Regions from separate parts of the Homo sapiens genome. Here regions 2, 3, 4, 5, 6 and 7 are each linked to region 1. Evidence: promoter capture Hi-C in 16 types of primary human blood cells and fetal thymus (Javierre and others, 2016). All regions are on one chromosome and are shown on one strand. The core of a region is centred on a gene start or on the middle of the fragment in contact, and the rest is flanking DNA. Distances in the headings are between cores, read along the strand shown. Region 1 holds the start of WFDC3 (WAP four-disulfide core domain 3). Region 2 overlaps RBPJL (recombination signal binding protein for immunoglobulin kappa J region like). Region 3 overlaps TP53TG5 (TP53 target 5). Region 4 has its middle 13 kb from the start of WFDC2. Region 5 overlaps LOC105372630 (a long non-coding RNA gene). Region 6 holds the start of SDC4 (syndecan 4). Region 7 overlaps SDC4 (syndecan 4).

Region 1 (2,700 bases), core at 42-2,541:
CTTGTGCTCTCTCCCTTCCCTGACATGCATACTATTAATCCCTCTTTATAGTTGAGAAAACGGGCTCATCAGAGTCTGTTGATGAGAACACAGTTGTCTGACTCCAGAGCCTGTTCTCTTAAACTCCATGCTAACTGACCTCTTTAGAGCCCTCAACCACAGAGCCAGTGAATGTGAGGGATCTTAGGTATTGTTTATTCCACAACCCATCTCCTGTGCCCTTCCCCATTTTGTACGTGAGTTCAGAGAAGGAAGTGACTTGACTAGTTCAAGATCACACAGAGTTACAGAATCGGAGTCTCCTCTTCCTCAGTCCTGTGCTCTTTCTACCGGCTGTAGATCTCCATAGCCTTGTGCACTGGGGATCCCAAATCTGCCATGCAAGCCAGTGGCTGGGATATAAGCCCCATGCAGGGCCAGCCTTACCTTGTTGTCATCTGTGAGCGGCGGCCCCTCCGCTGCACCTGCCGGTGCTTTATCATTATGTTCCAAGGGTTCTGTGGGGACCAACGGAACAAATGTCACTGCGGCCTGTGACACTGGGGTGGGGTGGAGGTGGAGGGTGGGTATGAAGTTAAACCTGGACATCCCTGCTTCTCAGATCCGTCACCATCTCTCCCGCCTTGGGGTGGGACGATAGTTGTAAGGCCTCCTCCACAAAAGAGGAACTGAGGAAGTTTCCTGCCTTAAAAGTCCCGACCCTGCCTTCTGGCACGGCAGGAGGAAGGGAAGCAGTATTTACCGAGGGTCAACTCTGTGTCAGGTGATGTCCGGGGCGTTGTACCCGCCTTTATCTTCCCATCCCACAACAAGTTTTATGAGACAGGTACTAATCATTTCCATTTTATAGAAGAGGATCCTGGGACTCAGGGGGTTGACAGAGATGGCCCACGTCACCTAGCTAGGAGGGCGGCACCAGAATTTAAATCCAGGTCGTCGGGCTGCGAAAACGCCAACCCCCTCTGCAGCTCCAGCCTCCGCGTTCTCTCGCCCGCGGGCCAGGGTCCCAGGAGCCCCGAGGCCGTGCCCGGCCTGAGCCCAGACCTCACCGGGGGCGCCCTCACCGTAAGAACCAGCTGCCCCGCTGCGCCCGCATCCCCCAGCTCCAAGCCGCCCCTCTCGGCCCCGCTAGGTCCCCGCGGCTGCTCGGCGTCGCCAGTGGCTCCCATGGCGCCCCCGGCCCCCACAACTCCGCTGGACTCTGTCACCGGCCGGAAAGTGGCGCCGTGACGTCACTGGAGCGCGCTGCTCGTCCGCCCGGAAGCGCGACGCTGGAGCTGCGGGGTTACCATGGGAACCGAACCGCCGCGCCTCGCCCAGGACAGTTACACTTAGAGGCCTTGTAGGTGGAGGTCGTTGGGGCTTCCTCTCGGGAGGGCTGCGCCTCGATTGTGCAGTGTGGGTGTTCAGTGGCGGTTCAGTCAAGGGATGTTTCCCGCTGGGCCAAGGCCTGGGGATGACTGCGGGGTAGGAGGAAGGGACCAGTTTTCTGTAGGCTGGGGTTGGGGAGCAGAGGGAAGCGTTTGGTACAGCGGCGCCTGCAGTTCAGTTTTTGAAAACTAGATTTTAATATGCTCGGCCAGGGGCGGTGGCTCACGCCTGTAATCCCAGCACTTTGGGAGGCCGAGGCGGGAGGATCACTTGCCATCAGGAGTTCGAGACCAGCCTGGCCAACATGGCGAAACCCCGTCTCTACTAAAAATATAAAAATTAGCCGGGCGTGGTGGTGGGCACCTGTAATCCCAGCTACTCGGGAGGCTGAGGCAGGAGAGTCTCTTGAACCCAGGAGGCGGAGGTTGCAGTGAGCCGAGATCACGCCACTGCACTCCAGCCTGGGCGACAGAGGGAGACTGTCTCAAAAAAAAAAAAAAAAAAAGCACATTAGGCACATGTTAGGTCATCATCAAATGTTAATTATGCCGAGATCGCGCCACTGCATTCCAGCCTGGGGGACAGAGGGAGACTCTGTCTCAAAAAAAAAAAAAAAAAAAAAAAAAAAAGCATATTAGGCACATATGAGGTCATCATCAAATGTTAATTATCTCCATGAGCCAACATCAGCCTTCTAACCATAAGGGCGACTTCCTGGCTCCAAACTTTTTGATCCTATTAAGGAGGTTTTACCTTGTACCTGCCCATAGGACTAAGCAGTGCCAGTGGACACCATTAGGTATCACAGCTAACCAAAGGCATGACCAGGACAGATAAAGAAAAAAAGAAATGGAGAAAAAAGAAATAAAGGAGGTATATGTGGGCAGACTATTTGAGTCATACATAGCAACTTCTCTTGGGTTCTGCCAGCTAGACTTCATACAGTCCAAGAATGGCCTGTGTGGGTTAGAGGGACAAAGATGTAGGTGTTTGGTGCTTTTCATTAGTTCTTAACAAACTCAACTACTGCTTTTCTGTAGGTTTTTGATAGTTTCTTTTCTCTCTTTTTTTTTTTTTTGAGACAGAGTCTCACTCTGTTACCCAAGCTGGAGTGCAGTGGCATGATCTCCACTCACTGCAACCTCTGCCTCCTGGGTTCAAGCTATTCTCCTGCCTCAGCCTCCCACGTAGCTGGGATTACAGGCATGCACCAGCATGCCCAGCTGATTTTTGTATTTTTAGTAGAGACAGGGTTTCGCCATGTTGGCCAGGCTGGTCTCAAACTCCTGACCTCAGGTGATCTGCCCGCCTTGGCCTATTTGATAGTTT
Region 2 (2,700 bases), core at 132-2,631, 480 kb after region 1:
CGCCTGGTGAGCTGGAAAGGGACGCGAACTGGCTCTGCAAGGACTCGGGAGGACGCAGGTGCCAGGCAAGCTTAGCGCTCGCCGCCAGAGGGCGCGGGGAGACTGCGCCTGCGAACCGCCCCGTCTCGGGCCCAATCTCGTGGTCCTCCCTACAGAGCAGGCGGCCGGCAGCCCTTGATTCCGCCCTCACCTTGATCCTGCCCTGGCTTCACCCTCCAGCCAGGCCCCGAGAGGTAGACACAGGGCGGGGGGCAGAAGAACCTGCGGAGATAAGTGAGTGTTGGAGTCGTGCATCCATCTCCACTTGGCTCTCCTGTAAGCACGGCAAGGTAGTAGCATAAACCCAGCAGAACCTTCGTTTCCTCCTCCCGCTCCCCGCAACGCTTTTTCACGACTGTAAACCCCATTCATAGCCAAACCTTATTGTTTTTACACCCCTCATTCAACTCATCAGAAGGTCCTGTCCACTCCACCTTCAAAATATAATATATCCAGAATCCACTGGCTTTTTACCACCTCGCCCTTCATCCCAGCCGCCATTACTTTTTGCCTGGACCACAGCATCAGCCTTCAAACTGGTCTATTTCCAGAAAGTTCTGTTTCTATCTCCTTCCCATTTCGCACAGCAGCCAGAGTGCTCCTTCCTTCCTTCCTTCCTCTCTCTTTCTTTCTTTTTTTCTTTCATTCCTTCCTTCCTGTTTCTTTCTTTTTCTTTTTCTTTTTTTTTTTTTTTGAGGCAGGGTCTTGCTCTGTTGCCCAGGCTGGAATGCAGTAACTTGATCTCGGCTGTCTGGGCTCACTGCAACTTCTGCCTCCCCAACTGATCCTCCCACCTCGGCCTCCTGAGTAGGTGAGACTACAGACACAAGCCACCACACCCATCTAATTTTTGTGTTTTTTGTACAGACATGGTTTTGTCATGTTGCCCATGCAGGTCTGGAACTTCTGGGCTCAAGCAATCTGCCCACCTGGGTCTGCCGAAGTGCTGGGATTACAGGGATGAGCCACCAGGCTGGCCAGAGTGTTTTGTTAAAAACATGAGTCAAATCATGTTAACTCCTTAAAATCCTCCACTGGTTTAAAATTCAAAGTCCTCCTGAGATCTGACCCCTGCTTACCTCTCTGACTTGTTTCCTACAACTCCTCCCTCTGATTTCAGCCACTGTCATTTCTTTTGTACCTCAAACAGGCCTAATTGGTACAGCCTCAAGGTCTTCCCATTTTCTGTTGCCCTTTTTTTTTTTGAGACTGAGTCTTGCTCTGTCGCCAGGCTGGAGTGCAGTGGCATGATCTCGGCTCACTGCAACCTCCGCCTCCCGGGTTCAACCAATTATCCTGCCTCAGCCTCCTGAGCAGCTGGGATTACAGGTGCCCGCCACCATGCCCAGCTAATTTTGTATTTTTTGGTAGAGAGGGGGTTTCACTGTATTGGCCAGGCTGGTCTCGAACTCCTGACCTCAGGTGATCCGCCCGCCTCGGCCTCCCAAAGTGCTGGGATTACAGGTGTGAGCCATCGCGCCCGGCCCTTCTGTTCCTTCTAATTGTAGCACGCTTTCCCCAGATATTCTCCTGTCTGGCTCCATTTCAGCATTCAAGTTTCAGTTCCAATGTTACCTCCCAAAAGGTCTCTCAACCTCCTTGACCTTTCTAGCTAATGTCCCCCCTGCCTTCAGTTTCCGTCAAATGGCCTCGTTCAGTTTTCCTTCTAGTGCTCATCATAATCTGCAAGTATCTTGTTTCCTGACTTGTGGGGAGTTTACTGTCTGTCTCTTCCACACTTGAGTGAGAGTGTGGGCTACAGAGCAGGGGCTGTTTCTGTCTTGTTCAGCTGTATGCCCAGTGCCCAGCAGTACCCACAGAGCCTGGTGCATACATGACAAACACTCAGTAAGTAGTTGTTGAATGAATGAATAAGTGAATCAATGGGAGAATGAGTGAATGAATGGAGACAGGAGATTCACAGGGAATCTCCTGCTGTAGAACTATAGACCAAAGTGGGGGCTAATGGTGGCTGAGGGTCAAGGCCCTGGTCGACCAATAGCTGAGATCTCAGCCCTGAGGCCTGCTCTGCGTCTAAAAGAGGCCCAATGGGTGGATGGAGGAGGTGCATAGGGCTGACAGTTGCAGAGACCTGGGAGGGGCTGCGGAGGCACCTACCGCTTCTCATTTCCGTATGATTTCTGGGCCACCTTGGCATGCAGGATCCGCACAGTCTGTTCACACTGTTGCTGCAGGCACCTGCGCACGCCTCCCCTCAGAATGGTGGTGTGCTCTGGGGATGACCTGGGAGTAGGGCAGGCAGGTCGACCAGCCACAGGAGGGAGAAGGGTCAAGGTGGCACAGGGTCCAAGCACTCAGGTTGAGTAAAATGAAGTGAGCAGGGGGTTAGAGTGAGTGGGAGGGTGGGGCTGCTCTATATCCTGCCCCTGTGGGGTCAGGAAGAGGAAGCATTAGGTAAGGAGGAGACTTGGCTGCAAATTGTAGGCTAAATATTTAGGCTGCAAGGTGCTCAACGAAGCCTGCATGGAACCCATGGGACCACCCAGGTTCCACTCTGTGGGTCTGGCATCATGCCCATTGGAGCCCAGGGCCATAGGGACACGTGGCTGTGACACAAAGGCTGCACTTATACTGGCCTTGGGATGGAGAAGAGTATTTTAGGGCTGATGGAATTGGTAGAGATGAAGCTTCCCCACCCTG
Region 3 (2,703 bases), core at 42-2,541, 420 kb after region 1:
GTGACATTGAGACACCTCCTCAGAACCCTAAGGTTCTTGGAGCACAATTTAGAAAAACTACTGGACTGTTCACCCTCCCAGCTGAAGTCCAGAGAGACAGAACCCTAATCTAGTGGCAGATGATGTAGACAATATTCATTCTTAGGGGCCTTAACTACTAGTCATGGCTTTCACCTTCCCAATCTCTCACATCCCTCTGCTAGTGCTCATCACACCTCCTCACACCAGCACAAGGCCTCTGGGCAGTAGAGAAGTTTCTTTGCAGGCCCCTCTAGCCTTTCTTAACAGGCTCCCCTGAGCTGGCTACATAGCAACTGTCTCGGGAACCAGGGCCTCGGTCCTGCTGTGCTGACTGCCTTTCCTCTCCCTGCCAGGGAAAACAGTGCCTGCAATAAAACAAAACAAAATAATGAAGAGTTCCAGGAGATCGGGTGCTCCGAGAAGGAACTCAAGTCCAAGAAATTAGAGTCCACAGGGGACCCTAAGAAAAAAGAGTACAAGGAGTGGAAGTCCCAGGTGCAGTCAGGGATGAGGAACAAGGAGAAAACGTCATTGGCGGCAATGCCACGGAAAGAAAAGCATATAGAGCCTGAGGTTCCAAGGACATCGAGGGATGATAGCTTGAACCCTGGAGTCCAGGGGAGGCAACCACTCACCGAGGGCCCCCGAGTCATCTTCATTAAGCCCTACCGCAATAGAACTCCCATGGGGCACATGAAGCAGCTGGATGTAGCCGACCAGTGGATCTGGTTTGAGGGGCTGCCCACACGAATCCACCTCCCGGCGCCCAGGGTGATGTGCAGATCCTCCACCCTGCGTTGGGTCAAGCGCCGCTGCACCCGCTTCTGCTCCGCATCACTTGAAATGCCTATGTGGCATCCATACAAGGTGGGTGTGACAACAACACTGCCAGGCTAGGTGAGATGCAAGCCCCAAGCCAGGCCCAGAGCTGGGCCCCAGAGTCAGGGTTCAGGATCTGGAGTCTTGAGTGGTGTGTGGCTGGTAGTGCTGGGAGGCTCCGCCTTCATGTCCAGAGAGGGGGAAGCCTTAGACCAACATCATACAGAAGGGTAGTGACTAGGTTGAGGCGTCTCAGGATACAGCTAGGAGATGTGTGGAAGGAGGGGCACTGAAGTGAGCCATCTCACTGCCTGAAGGCCTTAGCAGAGGTGGAAACTGCTGTGGCTCTGAATCTCACAGTCAGAGGCCTACATAAGTGGGTTTAAGGATTTCCAAATGTGGGAGGGGGGAGATGGTCAAGTAGGGCTTTGCTGCATCCCATTCCCTCTAAGATCAATTCAACTCTCTATTTATGTTTGATTGATTCATGCCTCAAATAAGATTTACTCTGAACAGGCTAGGCATGGTGGCTCACGCCTGTAATCCCAGCACCTTGGGAGGTCGAGGCAGGAAGACTGCTTGAGGCCAGGAGTTCAAGACCATCCTGGGCAACATAATGAGACACTGTCTCTACAAAAAATTTAAAAATTAGCCAGATGTGGTGCCTTGCGCTTGTAGTATCAGCTACTCAGGAGGCTGAGGTCGGAGGATCGCTTAAGCCCAGGAGTCGAGGCTGCAGTGAGCTGTGACTTCGCCACTGCACTCCAGCCTGGGCAAGAGAGCAAGACCCTGTCTTAAAAAAAAAGAAAGGAAAAAAAGATTTACTCTGAGCAGAAAGTTCCTTAGCAAAAAAAGAAGAAAATACCGCAGCCCTTTCGTGGGAGAATGAAAGTCCCACGAAAGGAAGGGGGTGAGTGCCCACCGGGTCTAGCTTAAAGGGAGGCTTTTCCTTTTTAGCAAAGGCATTTCCAACCTACCAGACACCACAGCACCCTTGTCCCTGCGCCCGCTCCCCAAACGACCAGCGCCCCCTGGGGACAGTCTTAGCGCCTAACACCGAGGTTTCTGCTGGCAGGTTGATGTGACCTGGACGAGAGCCAGAGGTGCGAGCAGAGGGTGGAGATCGCGCCATCAGCTGAAGGGGAGGAATGGGTGGCGAAATTCACGAGTCTACAAATAAGATCTTCCATATGGCACCTAAGACGAATACTGCTTACTCTGCCTGTTTGTCTGGGGCTGGGAAGGATGAAGGAAAGAGGCCTTCGGTAGAGGGAGCCTGTGTCGCGACTTCAGGCTTCCCCCACCCCCACCCCGAGGCCCCTAAGGTCAGTCTAGAACCAAAGAAGCCAGCGAGCAGCACCCCTCCCCCACCTCCGCGAGCTAGTCTCCTGAGTGGCGCGCTCTGTGAAGTCAGGGCGCTCGTGTGCTTCCTGGGTGCAAAGTGCCTCACAATCGCCCCGCGAGCTCGCAAGAGGAAACCGCGGCGCGGAGGCAGCAAGTAACTTGCCCAGGCTCACTCAGCTAGAAAGTGGCAGGAGCAAGGGCTCCTGGTTGCTCCCCATTCCATTTTCCCAAGAAAGGGAAAAGGCGAAATGAGAGCCTGCTCAGAAGTCACGAGGCAGGCGGAATAGCCCCAGCACCCTGTAGGTCATGCGCGTGCATTGCGACCTGATTGTCAAAAATTGATTGTCAAAAACTGATTGCACTGTGGCTGGTGTCAAAAAGTGGATGTCAGCTGGGCCTCCAAATGTGTCCTGCCTTGGTCACAGATCACAGAAGGCACCGGATCAGGAGGGGGAGCTGGTACTGCATCTCTACTGCTCCAGGGTGACATGGCAGGTCCACCCTCAATCTGAAGACCTC
Region 4 (2,700 bases), core at 125-2,624, 340 kb after region 1:
ATTGATCAGGCTGGTCTCGAACTCTTGACCTTAGGTGATCCGCCCGGCTTGACCTCCCAAAGTTCTGGGATTACAGATATGAGCCACCGTGCCCAGCCACAACCTCACACCTCTTTATAGGTGAAGAAACCAAAGTTGGCAGAGAAAGCAATTGGCTTGAGTCTTGCAGGCATGACCAGCAAAGCCAGGAATTACACTCTAGTCCTTCTGACACCAAAGCTTGTGCTATTAACTCTCTGTTATCCATAACACCATCTCCCTAAGAAGGAGAAGCAATGCTAGAATTCTCCATTTCCCAGATGCTTCTAGTTTTTGAAGGAAGCCGTATGTAGTGTCGTCTCAACAGGTATGGGGAAAAGTCCAGGAATGAGAACCTGGATTTAAACCTGAATATCGAATATTGATCGGATTAACATTATAGTATAACGCCACTGGGAGGATGAGTCATAGAAAGGGTTTGTAAAAGTCATGGAGGCAGGTGGAAAAGAAAGCCAAGTCCTCGTTTTCCATAGTGGTAAGTCTTAAATCTGAAAAATCAAATAGTAACAATTTAGGTAACACACCTAAATTTACACACAAGGAAGAAAGTTCCAAAAGAATCAGCCAAGGGGCCGAGGTGGAGGATCGCTTGAGTCCAGGAGTTCGAGACCAGCCTGGGCAACATAACTTGTCTCTCCAAAAAGTTTTTAAAAATTAGCCAGGCATGGTAGTATGTGCCAGTAGTTTCAGCTACTCAGGAGGCTGAGGTGGGAGGATGCTTGAGCCCAGAAGGTCGAGGCTGCAGTGAACTATGATCATGCTACTGCGCTCCAGCCTGAGTGATGGAACGAGACTCTTGACTCAAAAAAAAAAAAAAAAAAAAAAAAAGTCCATGATGTAAAGTAACTAAAAAAAAGAAAAGAAAAGAAAAGAAAGAAACCCCTTCTCCATGCTGCCCTCTCAAAAAACAAAAACTTCTTCGCCAGGCTTTCTCTAATGTCATACTTCATGCATTCCTGAGAAGTGGGCAGAGCAGATTTTGTCATCCCCACCTTACAGAGGAGAAAACAGTGGCTGAATTGGCATCCCAAGTTCAGGCAGCATAGCACAGGACCTGCAGGGACATTCCCAGCAAGTACTAGAAGAATTCGTGTGAAATGCTTCATAAATGCTTCTAAGGAGCATAACTGTAAAACAGATCCTTGTGGCAGTGTTTATTGGCTGCATTACATGATTACATGAGTGTTAAAAGGGATGCTTGAATTATCACACGTGGCGCCACCTTCTGTTGTAAACGAGAACCTGAGGGACAGGTGACACTCTCCAGGATCACGCGGTAAGGCAAGAGCAGAACTGCCCTTTTCCTATCATTGTGATTCTATATACAACCCCTGGGCCATGTCAGCCACTCCTGCTGTACCATTTTCCAACTGGGTGAAAAACCTCAGATCTCTATCCATTCCAGACCTCTCTCCATTGTTGGTGTGTTATGTTCTCTTCATGGCAGCTGGTGACCTTTTAAAAATTAAATCAGATCACGTTACTTTCGTGTTCCAAGCCCTTCTGTGGTTTCCACTGTACATGGAATTACAATCTAAATACCTTGTCATGGCTGTGATCAAGCCCCTGCCTATCTTTTTCTGCCATGCAGGAAGAGTTTGTTCCTGCCTTAGGACTTTTGCATTCATTCTTTCTTCTGCATCCACCAGAGGCCTACACGGCTCCTTCCTTCACTCCACTCAGAACCATCCTGCCTAAACTGGCCCCTCTTCACCTTGTATTCTGAGTTATTTTCTTTTTTTTTTTTATTATTATACTTTAAGTTCTAAGGTACGTGTGCACAACGTGCAGGCTCATTACGTAGCTATACATGTGCCCTGCTGGCCCACTACACCCATCAACCCGTCATTTACATTAGGTATTTTTCCCAGGGCTATCCCTCCCTCCCTGAGTTCTTTTCTTCATAGCAGTTATCACCACCTGAAACTTATCTCACTCAATTATTATTCTCTCCAGCTGAAATGTCAGCTCCAGGAGGGTGGGGAGCTTGTGTGCTGCCTTCACTCTTGTGACCCAGCACCTAGAACAGTGCCCAGCACATACAGTCGGCACTCAATCATAGCATGGCTATTGAGTCCTTCCTGAGTGCAGGCACTATTCCAAAGTCTATACGTGTATTAACCTCCCCTCCCTCAGTAACAACCAAAGAGGCAGGAGCTGTTATTACCAACCCCATTTTACAGATGCATCAATAATGACAGAGAAGTGAAGTGACTTGCGCACACAACCAGTAAATTGGCAGAGTCAGATTTGAATCCATGGAGTCTGGTCTGCACTTTCAATCACCGAATACCCTTTCTAAGAAACGTGTGCTGAACGAGTGCATGGATAAATCAGTGTCTACTCAACATCTTTGCCTAGATATCCCGCAGAGATGGGGTTTTGCTATGTTGGTCACGCTGGTCTGGAACTCCTGGCCTCAAGGGATCCACCCGCCTTGGCCTCCCAAAGTGCTGGGATTACAGGCATGAGCCACCGCATCAAGCTTTTTCCCCTATTTTACGGAGAAGGAAACTGGCTCAGAAAAGTGAAGTGACTTGCTTATGGTCACACAGTAATATCTACTAAACAGTCACATGGTAATAGCTACTAAAGCCGAACCCCTCTAATTAGTACCAAGCTCCTTGGCTCGCGCCTGTAATCCCAGCACTTTGGGAGGCC
Region 5 (2,700 bases), core at 115-2,614, 500 kb after region 1:
AAGATGTGTTGGCAAGGCTTTATTCCTTCTAGAGGCTTTTGTTTCCTGGCCTTTTCCAGCTTCTAGAGGCTACCTGAATTCCTTGGGTCATGGCCCTACATCACTTCAGACTCAGTTTCCATCAGCACATCTCTTTCTCTGACTCTGACCTTCCCGTCTCTGTCTTATAAGGACCCTTCTGTTTATATTGGCATGACCTTGATAATCAAAGATAATCCCATCTCAAGCTATCTTTTTTTTTTTTTGAGATGGAGTTTTTGCTCTTGTTGCCCAGGCTGGAGTGCAATGGTGCGATCTCGGCTCACTGCAACCTCCGCCTCCTGGGTTCAAGCGATTCTCCTGCCTCAGCCTCCTGAGTAGCTGGGATTACAGGTGTATGCCACCACTCCCAGCTAATTTTTTGTATTTTTAGTAGAAACAGAGTTTCTCCATGTTGGTCAGGCTGGACTTGAACTTCCGACCTCAGGTGATCCGCCTGCCTCAGCCTCCCAAAGTGTTGGGATTACAGGCGTGAGCCACCGCGCCCAGCCTCAAGCTCTCTATCTTAACCACATCTGCAAAGTCCCTTTTGTCGTGTGAGGTGAAATCACAGGTGCCGGGGATTAAAATGTGTACATCTTTGTGGGGAAGGCCATTCTGCCTACCACATGGGGCTTGAAGCCAGGCTGACTGACTTCAGAGCAGCTGCTCTTAAGTACTCTGTGCCGGGCACCTTGCTAGGCTTGGTGAAGAGGGAGAAACTGATGATTGAGAAAAACTCTTGAGCTGAGGAAGCTCCGGGCTAGAAGGGCTGAGGTCCACCTGACTGTTGCAGAAAGAGGGAACTTCAGATGAGAGGAGGGAGAAATCCTGGAGAGGTGATCCTTAAACGGTGGCTGGAATTTCCGCAGGAGGCCATGGAAGACTTTACAGGTGAGTGAAGCTTGAACTATGCGTGGTCAGGAGGGACTGGAGTATGGGGGGATGGGAATGATCATCTTACCTGGCCATGAGGATCAGATGAGCTAAAGACCTATGGACTTGGCATGTGACCTCACCTTGCCTTACCATTCATTTTACAGTTGGGGAAACTGAGGCCTAGAGGCCAGAGTTGCCTGCCCAAGGTCACACAGAGAGAAAACATCAGTTGCACCAGGAAGAAGCCTAGTGGGGAGGTCAAACTGGAGCAGGGTAGTCAACTGATAGGGGGCACTGAGGGCAAAGGCCAGGCTCCTTCCTTCCTCTTCCCTGGAGTTGGCAGGCACTGGCTTCTCTGGGGTTTCTTTTCTCATGCTTTTTTCTCTTGCAATCTCCCTAATGGCCACTGGATGGCGCCGGGAGCACTGATTTGGAGCTGGGTCCTAGAGCCTTCGCAGGCCGTTGGCATCTGGCACTTGGGCTGCAGAGCCTGTCCTCCCTTAATTCCCCGACTCTGGCAGCCCCACCACCGAAGTCTACAAGCTGCTTCTGTTCCCATGCAGTGGCCCCATAGTCCTGGATTTGAAGACCAGCCCTGCTACTTACCAGGTGTGTGTTGGTGTTGACAGGTACTGGTTCCCTTTCTCACTTCTTGATTCCTTTCTCTCATTTCCCTTTCCTCCTACCAGCTTAACCCTGCTGGATACAGGGAATTCCTGTTCCCTAACCATGCCCCACATAAGGTCAGCTAGCGCTTGCTTCTTTGTTTATACCCCCATCTTACGTTATGGGATAGAAGACTTACAAAGGACCCGTGAATTCAGGAAAACAAACATCCATTAACTCAAGAACAGAAAGTGAGAACCCAAGTAACAGTGTGAGGAGAGTAACACTGCCAAGAAAGCTTAGATGGAGAAGGCACCGAGCCCGAACAAAGACCCCCGGGCCCGGGTCTTTTGGTACCCAGGCAAGCACGGGTTTATGTGGCTTTCAGAGCCTGTTAAGATCAGGAATAAAGCACGTAGATATTGGGGGAGTCCTGAGCCCAGGTGTGTGGAGAGAACTCAGCGCCCTCAGCCTTCTTGGTTCCCTGGAGAGTTTGAATCATTAAAAAACGACAATATCTTCCCTAGTGGTTAGCAGAGATGCCACTTCTGGAGCTGTTTCTTAGACTTAGTAACATGAACTAGGCATGGCCTTGGGTGGGAAAGGGCAGGGCAGGAAGGGCCTGTAACTTCAGCCAAGTGCTGGACTCGCTTTCTGAATTTCACCTCTGTGTTGTCTGGCTCTGTTTCTCCGTGGTTTTTGGCCTTTCTCTTCTTCTATTCTAGCTCACAGCTCTCTCCATTTCTGCAGCCGGCACAGCTGCTGTCTCTAAGGACTGTCTACTCTTCTGGTTCTTTGGACCTAGGATAGTGAAACAGGAGAGAAAACTATCAATTACCAAACACTGGCCTGCATGCTGGGGGCCAGGCTGTGCCTTTCATCTGTGTTGTCTCGTTGAAACCTCTCAACCTACAGGAGGGAAAACTGAACTTGAAAGAGGCCAGTTAGTTGCCCAAGGCCCAGAGCTTCCAAGTTAGGGTTTGAACCCAGGTGGTCTTGATCCCAGAGTAGGCCCATTTCACATTTCTACCCTTCAGTTATTAGGGACAAATTTGGACTTTTTCAAAGAAACCTTTTTCAGGAAGTTTATGGAGTAGACCAAAGCAAAGCCCGAGATACAGTGCAGGTGAATGGCAGGAGCCGCTCTGCCGTTTGTCAGCAGCACAGCCTCCATGGGACACTTTTGCCTCAGTGTCC
Region 6 (2,700 bases), core at 167-2,666, 440 kb after region 1:
ACTCTGAGACCAGCGTCAGAGTGGTCTCAGAGTGGCTGAGGCCCACCGCCTATTTTTGTTCAGCCCACTGCTAAGAATGGTTTTTGCATTTTTATTTTTTATTTTTTTGAGACGGAGTTTTGCTCTGTTGCCCAGGCTGGAGTGCAGTGGGGAGATCTCAGTTCACTGCAACCTCCGCCCCTCGGGTTCAAACGATTCTCCTGCCTCAGCCTCCAGAGCAGTTGGGATTACAGGCGCAGGCAACCATGCCTGGATAATTTTTGTATTTTGTAGAGACGGGGTTTCAGCATGTTGGCCAGGCTGGTCTCAAACTCCTGAGCTCAAGTGATCCGCCGCCTCAGCCTCCCAAAGTGCTGGGATTACAGGCATGACTCACTGCATCCGGCCTGCATTTTTATTATAAAATGTCATTTATTTATTTATTTATTTATTTATTTATTTATTTATTTATTTTTGAGACAGGGTCTCACTCGGTCACCCAGGCTGGAGTGCAGTGAGCGATCATGGCTCACTGCAACTTTCACCTCTCTGGCTCAAGCAGTCCTCCCACCTCAGCCTCCAGAGTAGCTGGGCCACAGGGGTGCACCACAATGCCTGGTTAATTTCTTTAAAAACTTTTTGTAGAGATGGGGGTCTCATTATGGTTGCCCAGGCTGGTCTCCAATTCCTGGGCTCAAGGGATCCTCCTATTCCTCGGCCTCCCAAAGTGCTGGGATTACAGGCGTGAGCCATAGAGCCCAGCCGATTTTTGCATGTTTAAATGGTTGGGAATAAAGTCAAAAGAATAATAATATTTCGTGACACATGAAAATTATATTAAATTCAAATGTCGGTGTCTATAAATAATGTTTTATTAGGACCTAGCTGCCCTCATTCCTTTAGTATTTATGGCTGCTTTTGAGCTACGACGCTCGAGTTTGAATAGTTGCCACAGGGATCGTATGGCCCGCAAAACCTAAAATATTTAGCCCTTTACAGAATAGTTTGCTGTCCCCTGTCTTAACACGGTTCACATCCCATTTGGGAAGTTCTGTGTCTTCAGAGGGGAGCACACCCGGTATGAAGGCTGGTCTAAACTCAACACCCTAGGGAAGTCCTTCCCGTCCCTGGGCCTTAGTTTCCCCAACTATAAAATGGGGTTAGCCGCAGTGATCTCTGGGGACCTGCCTGGCAGTGGGTCAAATAAATAAAGGGAGTTGGAGCTCCCGGAGGGTAGGACTAGGGGTTGAGTAGGAGCCGGCGGGCTCGGGCAGGGCGGGTCCCTTGGGGTTTCCAACTCCGCGGGCGGGCGCAGTGCCCCGCAGGCCTCGCTTCCACTGGGGAATTCCGGGCGGGGTGCGGGCGGCGGGGCGGGGGCGGGCCGGGGCGGGGCCGGTAGGCCGCCTATAAGATGGGTGGCGCGCCCGCCCGGGGCCACTCGCCGCAGCCTGCGCGCCTTCTCCAGTCCGCGGTGCCATGGCCCCCGCCCGTCTGTTCGCGCTGCTGCTGTTCTTCGTAGGCGGAGTCGCCGAGTCGGTGGGTGCTTGGAGGTTCCCGGGCTGGGGGCGAAGCGGGGGCGCAGGCCGGTGCCTCCTTTGTTCGTCGGAGCGTGGGATGGGGGGGGGCAGATCGGGGGTACGCTACCCCCAACCGGACACCGAGGCCCGGGAAACTTTGTTGGAAACTTTGCTCCGGGGTCACGGGCCAGCCTCCGGGATGGCTTCACGCGCCGTGCGCCCCTCGCCTGTTGCTCTTCCCGCCTCCCCGGGCCTCAGCCCCGCCGCGGGCTACGGGCTCGTTAGTGACTAAGCCGGTGTCAACTCTTCAACTCCCACACCCTCGTCCCTTCCCTGGTGACCCTGGGGCAGGCTTGGAGCGCTGAATCCCCTCCTCGCTCTCGGGGCGCCCAGAGCAGACAGCTTTAGGATCCGAGATGGCCCTGGGGGTCGGGGGGCTGCGTGTACTCGGAAGGGGGAGGGTTTTAGGGTTGTGCGAGGCCCTCTTTCACACACCAAGGAGAACTGAGCCCTAACCTCAGTTCTGGCCCCAGCTCTGTCATTGACTTGTGACTTAGGGCAAAGTCCTGCCCTTCTGAATCTCTTCCCAATACTGCACCAAGGGTCTGAGGGAATGGGGCAAGAGGGGACACTGCGTTAGGGTTTCTAGAAAGTTGGGGACTCTGCTCTTTTCGAGGACAGAGGAGAGGAATGGTTTAGACTCAACACTTAGCCAGGAGCTGAGCCTCTGCTTTCTGCAAGAAGTGTGTTCATTTTTTCTCAATTGCAGATAAGAAAATTGAAGCATCCACCTTGAGTGAGGTGAAGGGGGTAGGGGGGAGAGAAGGCCTCAATCAGCCCAGGGAAACCTTTCCTTCTCACTGTCCACTGGCCTCCGTCATAGCTGTCCCTGGGCCAGCAGAAGCTCTATCCATGCCCGCAGCCGGCTTAGGAGGAGGGGGGCAATCTCATCTGGGAAGTTGGGGGGCATGGGAATTACTGGTGAAGGCAATCTGTCCCCCACAGCCTGAGCTTTGTGCCCCCTTTGTGCCCTTTAGCCCCAGTTTTCAGAGCGAGTGAGTCCTTGCAGTTTAACCATTAATGTTAATTTCTTTGAAAGCCTTGGGGCTCCTGTTCCTCTGAATTTACTTAGCGGAAGGTTGATTCTGCCTGCAGGCTCTTCTTGAGGAATGAATGAGACCCTAGGCAATACTTCCAGCACAAT
Region 7 (2,700 bases), core at 108-2,607, 460 kb after region 1:
GGAAGGTCTCACCTGCCTCTTGTAAAGAGGGTTCCTGGGAGCACAGCCCCTGATGACTGGGCCCACCTCAGCCCTGACCCTGGCTTCCTGGTATCTGAGCCAAAGTTCTTTTTACTTTTCTTTCAGAAGTAAAAAGATTTGCATAAGACTTTGGATTTGCATAAGGTTTTGCTCTAATTAACTAAAGGTGCTATTGCTTCTAAAGAAAAATTTGAAAACCACTGATTAATCTAAGCACCTGCTTCTTATACATGGGGAGACTGAGGCCCAGGCTTTAGGCCACATAGTAAGAAAAGAACTGAAGCCAGGTTATCTCTTTAATCTTCCATTTGAGAATTATACAAGCCTAAGAGCCTCATGTGAAAAGTTATATTGTTAGCTGGTGTGGTGGAATCCCCCATTCCAGAAGCTTTAATCAGCACCCAGGAGCCTTATTAAATGCTTGCTGTATGCTGTATGATTCCTGTGCCCCTGATTGAGTCCGTACAACACAAAACTCAGTCTAAAGAACTTATCCGAAGTCACAAAGCTGGAAGTGGCAGACCTGGCATTTGGACTGAGGACCACAGTCAGCTTCTGAGCCTGTGCTTGAAACTTGACCCTGTGGGGCATCCCAGCGCAGACCCAGGGCCTCGTGGAGGAACTGGGGTCATCAGAGGGAAAGGTGATAGAGACAAGAATGGGGTTGATGCCTGATATTCCATGTGCTTGCTCTGGCACCTCCTGGGGGTACTTTTTTGTTGCTTTTTCATAGGATTTTACCCAAGAAAGAACCTTGCTTGACTCCTCTGTGCCACTCTGTCCCCATTGTGTACATAGATTTGTAGTGTGTGCAGGGATGGAAAATTAATCTTCTTAGCCCGAGTAAGACCGAATTAGGGAACTCAATCTGCCACAGAAGGGATTCTATGAAGCATCCCTGCCCCTAGCAAACAGGAATGAGTCATTCAGGCCACCTGGCAGAGTGGACAGGCCAGACCCACTCACTGTTAGAAGCCCATCTCTGCCCAACACTAGGCAGGTTCTCCTCTCGGAGCCTGAAAGTATCATTTATTAAGCACCTCCTGTTGTGCACACCTGATTCAGGGGGTTCGGGACACAGATATAAACCTTAAACCCTTACAGTTAATGAATCTTGAGAATATGCTATGCACTAGGCATTGTTCTAAGCACTTTGAGTGGATTAATTTATTTAATCCTTAGGACAAATGTATGAGAAAGGTATGGCTCTTCCCATTTTGCGGTAGGGAGATGAAGGAAACTTGCCCCAAATCACACAGCCAGGAAGTAGGAGAGGTAGGAGTGGAAACCAGGCCTTAGCTACTGAGTTCTGTATGTAATTGTAACATAAGAGTTTGGAATTAGTATGTTCTGCATGTGTGCACTTTGAATGTACATACCTGTCTATGAAGTGTAGGCTATATAGGTAAATATGCACACAGGGAGAGCTAGAGAGTGCCCTGTGCTAAGGACTGCAGGATAAATATGTCTACAGGGATTTCCATAGCCTACGGTTTTCTCCTGTTCCTGGTTCAGTTAGTGCTAGACTGTTGCAGGGGAGTCCGCGTGGTGTTTGGAAAGAGCCTAGGCTTTAGATTCAGGCAGATGTGGGTTAAAATAGTGGCCTTGGCCGAGTGCGGTGGCTCACGCCTGTAATCCCAGCACTTTGGGAGGCCGAGATGGGCAAGGTCAGGAGTTCAAGACCAGCCTGGCCAACATAGTGAAACCCTATCTCTACTAAAAATACAAAAATTAGCCGGGCATGGTGGCACGTGCCTATAATCCCAGCTACTCAGGAGGCTGAGGCAGGAGAATTGCTTGAACCTGGGAGGTGGAGGTTGCAGTAAGCCGAGATCACGCCACTGCACTCAGCTCGGGCAACAGAGTGAGACTTCGTCTCAAAAAGAAAAAGGAGTGGCCTTACCACTAGCCCTGTGGTCTTCAGTGACTTAAAATGCCAACGACCCACTTCTTATAACTGGGGTCATGAGGTCAACTTAAATAAGGCATCAGCTTGCCTGGCACAGGCAGTGGTGATGGTGAGGATGTCTGGTTGTAAGAGAACTGACAGTGGGGGAAAGAGGGGTTCATCCTTAGGTCCTGATGAGGAGCTCTCACCCCCGCCTCTTCTCTCTCCTCCTCTCCAGCTCTGATTGTGGGTGGCATCGTGGGCATCCTCTTTGCCGTCTTCCTGATCCTACTGCTCATGTACCGTATGAAGAAGAAGGATGAAGGCAGCTATGACCTGGGCAAGAAACCCATCTACAAGAAAGCCCCCACCAATGAGTTCTACGCGTGAAGCTTGCTTGTGGGCACTGGCTTGGACTTTAGCGGGGAGGGAAGCCAGGGGATTTTGAAGGGTGGACATTAGGGTAGGGTGAGGTCAACCTAATACTGACTTGTCAGTATCTCCAGCTCTGATTACCTTTGAAGTGTTCAGAAGAGACATTGTCTTCTACTGTTCTGCCAGGTTCTTCTTGAGCTTTGGGCCTCAGTTGCCCTGGCAGAAAAATGGATTCAACTTGGCCTTTCTGAAGGCAAGACTGGGATTGGATCACTTCTTAAACTTCCAGTTAAGAATCTAGGTCCGCCCTCAAGCCCATACTGACCATGCCTCATCCAGAGCTCCTCTGAAGCCAGGGGGCTAACGGATGTTGTGTGGAGTCCTGGCTGGAGGTCCTCCCCCAGTGGCCTTCCTCC

Evidence for each region. The method cuts DNA at HindIII sites, captures the fragments that hold promoters and counts their contacts. A CHiCAGO score of 5 or more calls a contact.
Region 2: a contact is called between a fragment that was not itself captured here and the fragment with the promoter of WFDC3 in region 1, in 9 of 17 cell types (erythroblasts, activated CD4 T cells, monocytes and 6 more). The highest score is 9.1, in erythroblasts.
Region 3: a contact is called between a fragment that was not itself captured here and the fragment with the promoter of WFDC3 in region 1, in 13 of 17 cell types (M1 macrophages, M2 macrophages, naive CD8 T cells and 10 more). The highest score is 11.2, in M1 macrophages.
Region 4: a contact is called between a fragment that was not itself captured here and the fragment with the promoter of WFDC3 in region 1, in 3 of 17 cell types (M0 macrophages, M1 macrophages and endothelial precursors). The highest score is 5.5, in M0 macrophages.
Region 5: a fragment that was not itself captured here is called in contact with the fragment with the promoter of WFDC3 in region 1 in 2 of 17 cell types (monocytes and activated CD4 T cells); the score reaches 6.1 in monocytes.
Region 6: the fragment with the promoter of SDC4 here is called in contact with the fragment with the promoter of WFDC3 in region 1 in 16 of 17 cell types (M2 macrophages, erythroblasts, M0 macrophages and 13 more); the score reaches 18.7 in M2 macrophages.
Region 7: a contact is called between a fragment that was not itself captured here and the fragment with the promoter of WFDC3 in region 1, in 11 of 17 cell types (monocytes, total CD4 T cells, M0 macrophages and 8 more). The highest score is 7.8, in monocytes.

Annotation. Positions count from the first base shown.
Region 1 is chr20:45,790,474-45,793,173 of GRCh38, reverse strand. WFDC3 (WAP four-disulfide core domain 3) reads left to right here and starts at 1,291. Exons shown (of 7, transcript NM_080614.2): 1 at 1,291-1,342. DNTTIP1 (deoxynucleotidyltransferase terminal interacting protein 1) reads right to left here and starts at 1,220. Exons shown (of 13, transcript NM_052951.3): 1 at 1,065-1,220; 2 at 427-497. The coding sequence starts at 1,169. RefSeq lists silencers at 518-657, 868-1,137. The HindIII fragment of the contact is 10,060 bases long and covers 1-2,700 here.
Region 2 is chr20:45,309,150-45,311,849 of GRCh38, reverse strand. It overlaps RBPJL (recombination signal binding protein for immunoglobulin kappa J region like), which reads right to left. Exons shown (of 12, transcript NM_014276.4): 3 at 2,158-2,283; 4 at 191-261; 5 at 1-11. Among named protein-coding and RNA genes, the nearest start is that of MATN4, 2.2 kb to the right of the region's middle. RefSeq lists a silencer at 178-227. The HindIII fragment of the contact is 2,617 bases long and covers 73-2,689 here.
Region 3 is chr20:45,373,224-45,375,926 of GRCh38, reverse strand. It overlaps TP53TG5 (TP53 target 5), which reads left to right. Exons shown (of 5, transcript NM_014477.3): 4 at 375-888; 5 at 1,916-2,703. The coding sequence ends at 2,020. All of the region lies in intron 3 of SYS1-DBNDD2 (SYS1-DBNDD2 readthrough (NMD candidate)), which reads right to left. It also overlaps a transcript of SYS1 not described here. Among named protein-coding and RNA genes, the nearest start is that of TP53TG5, 3.8 kb to the left of the region's middle. RefSeq lists an enhancer at 2,525-2,584. The HindIII fragment of the contact is 5,473 bases long and covers 1-2,703 here.
Region 4 is chr20:45,455,403-45,458,102 of GRCh38, reverse strand. No RefSeq gene overlaps it. Among named protein-coding and RNA genes, the nearest start is that of WFDC2, 13 kb to the left of the region's middle. The HindIII fragment of the contact is 2,305 bases long and covers 222-2,526 here.
Region 5 is chr20:45,289,680-45,292,379 of GRCh38, reverse strand. LOC105372630 (a long non-coding RNA gene) reads right to left here. Exons shown (of 3, transcript XR_936763.3): 3 at 2,028-2,304. Among named protein-coding and RNA genes, the nearest start is that of RBPJL, 16 kb to the left of the region's middle. The HindIII fragment of the contact is 879 bases long and covers 925-1,803 here.
Region 6 is chr20:45,347,140-45,349,839 of GRCh38, reverse strand. SDC4 (syndecan 4) reads left to right here and starts at 1,416. Exons shown (of 5, transcript NM_002999.4): 1 at 1,416-1,515. The coding sequence starts at 1,456. The HindIII fragment of the contact is 6,082 bases long and covers 1-2,700 here.
Region 7 is chr20:45,326,863-45,329,562 of GRCh38, reverse strand. It overlaps SDC4 (syndecan 4), which reads left to right. Exons shown (of 5, transcript NM_002999.4): 5 at 2,148-2,700. The coding sequence ends at 2,299. Among named protein-coding and RNA genes, the nearest start is that of MATN4, 20 kb to the right of the region's middle. The HindIII fragment of the contact is 1,892 bases long and covers 412-2,303 here.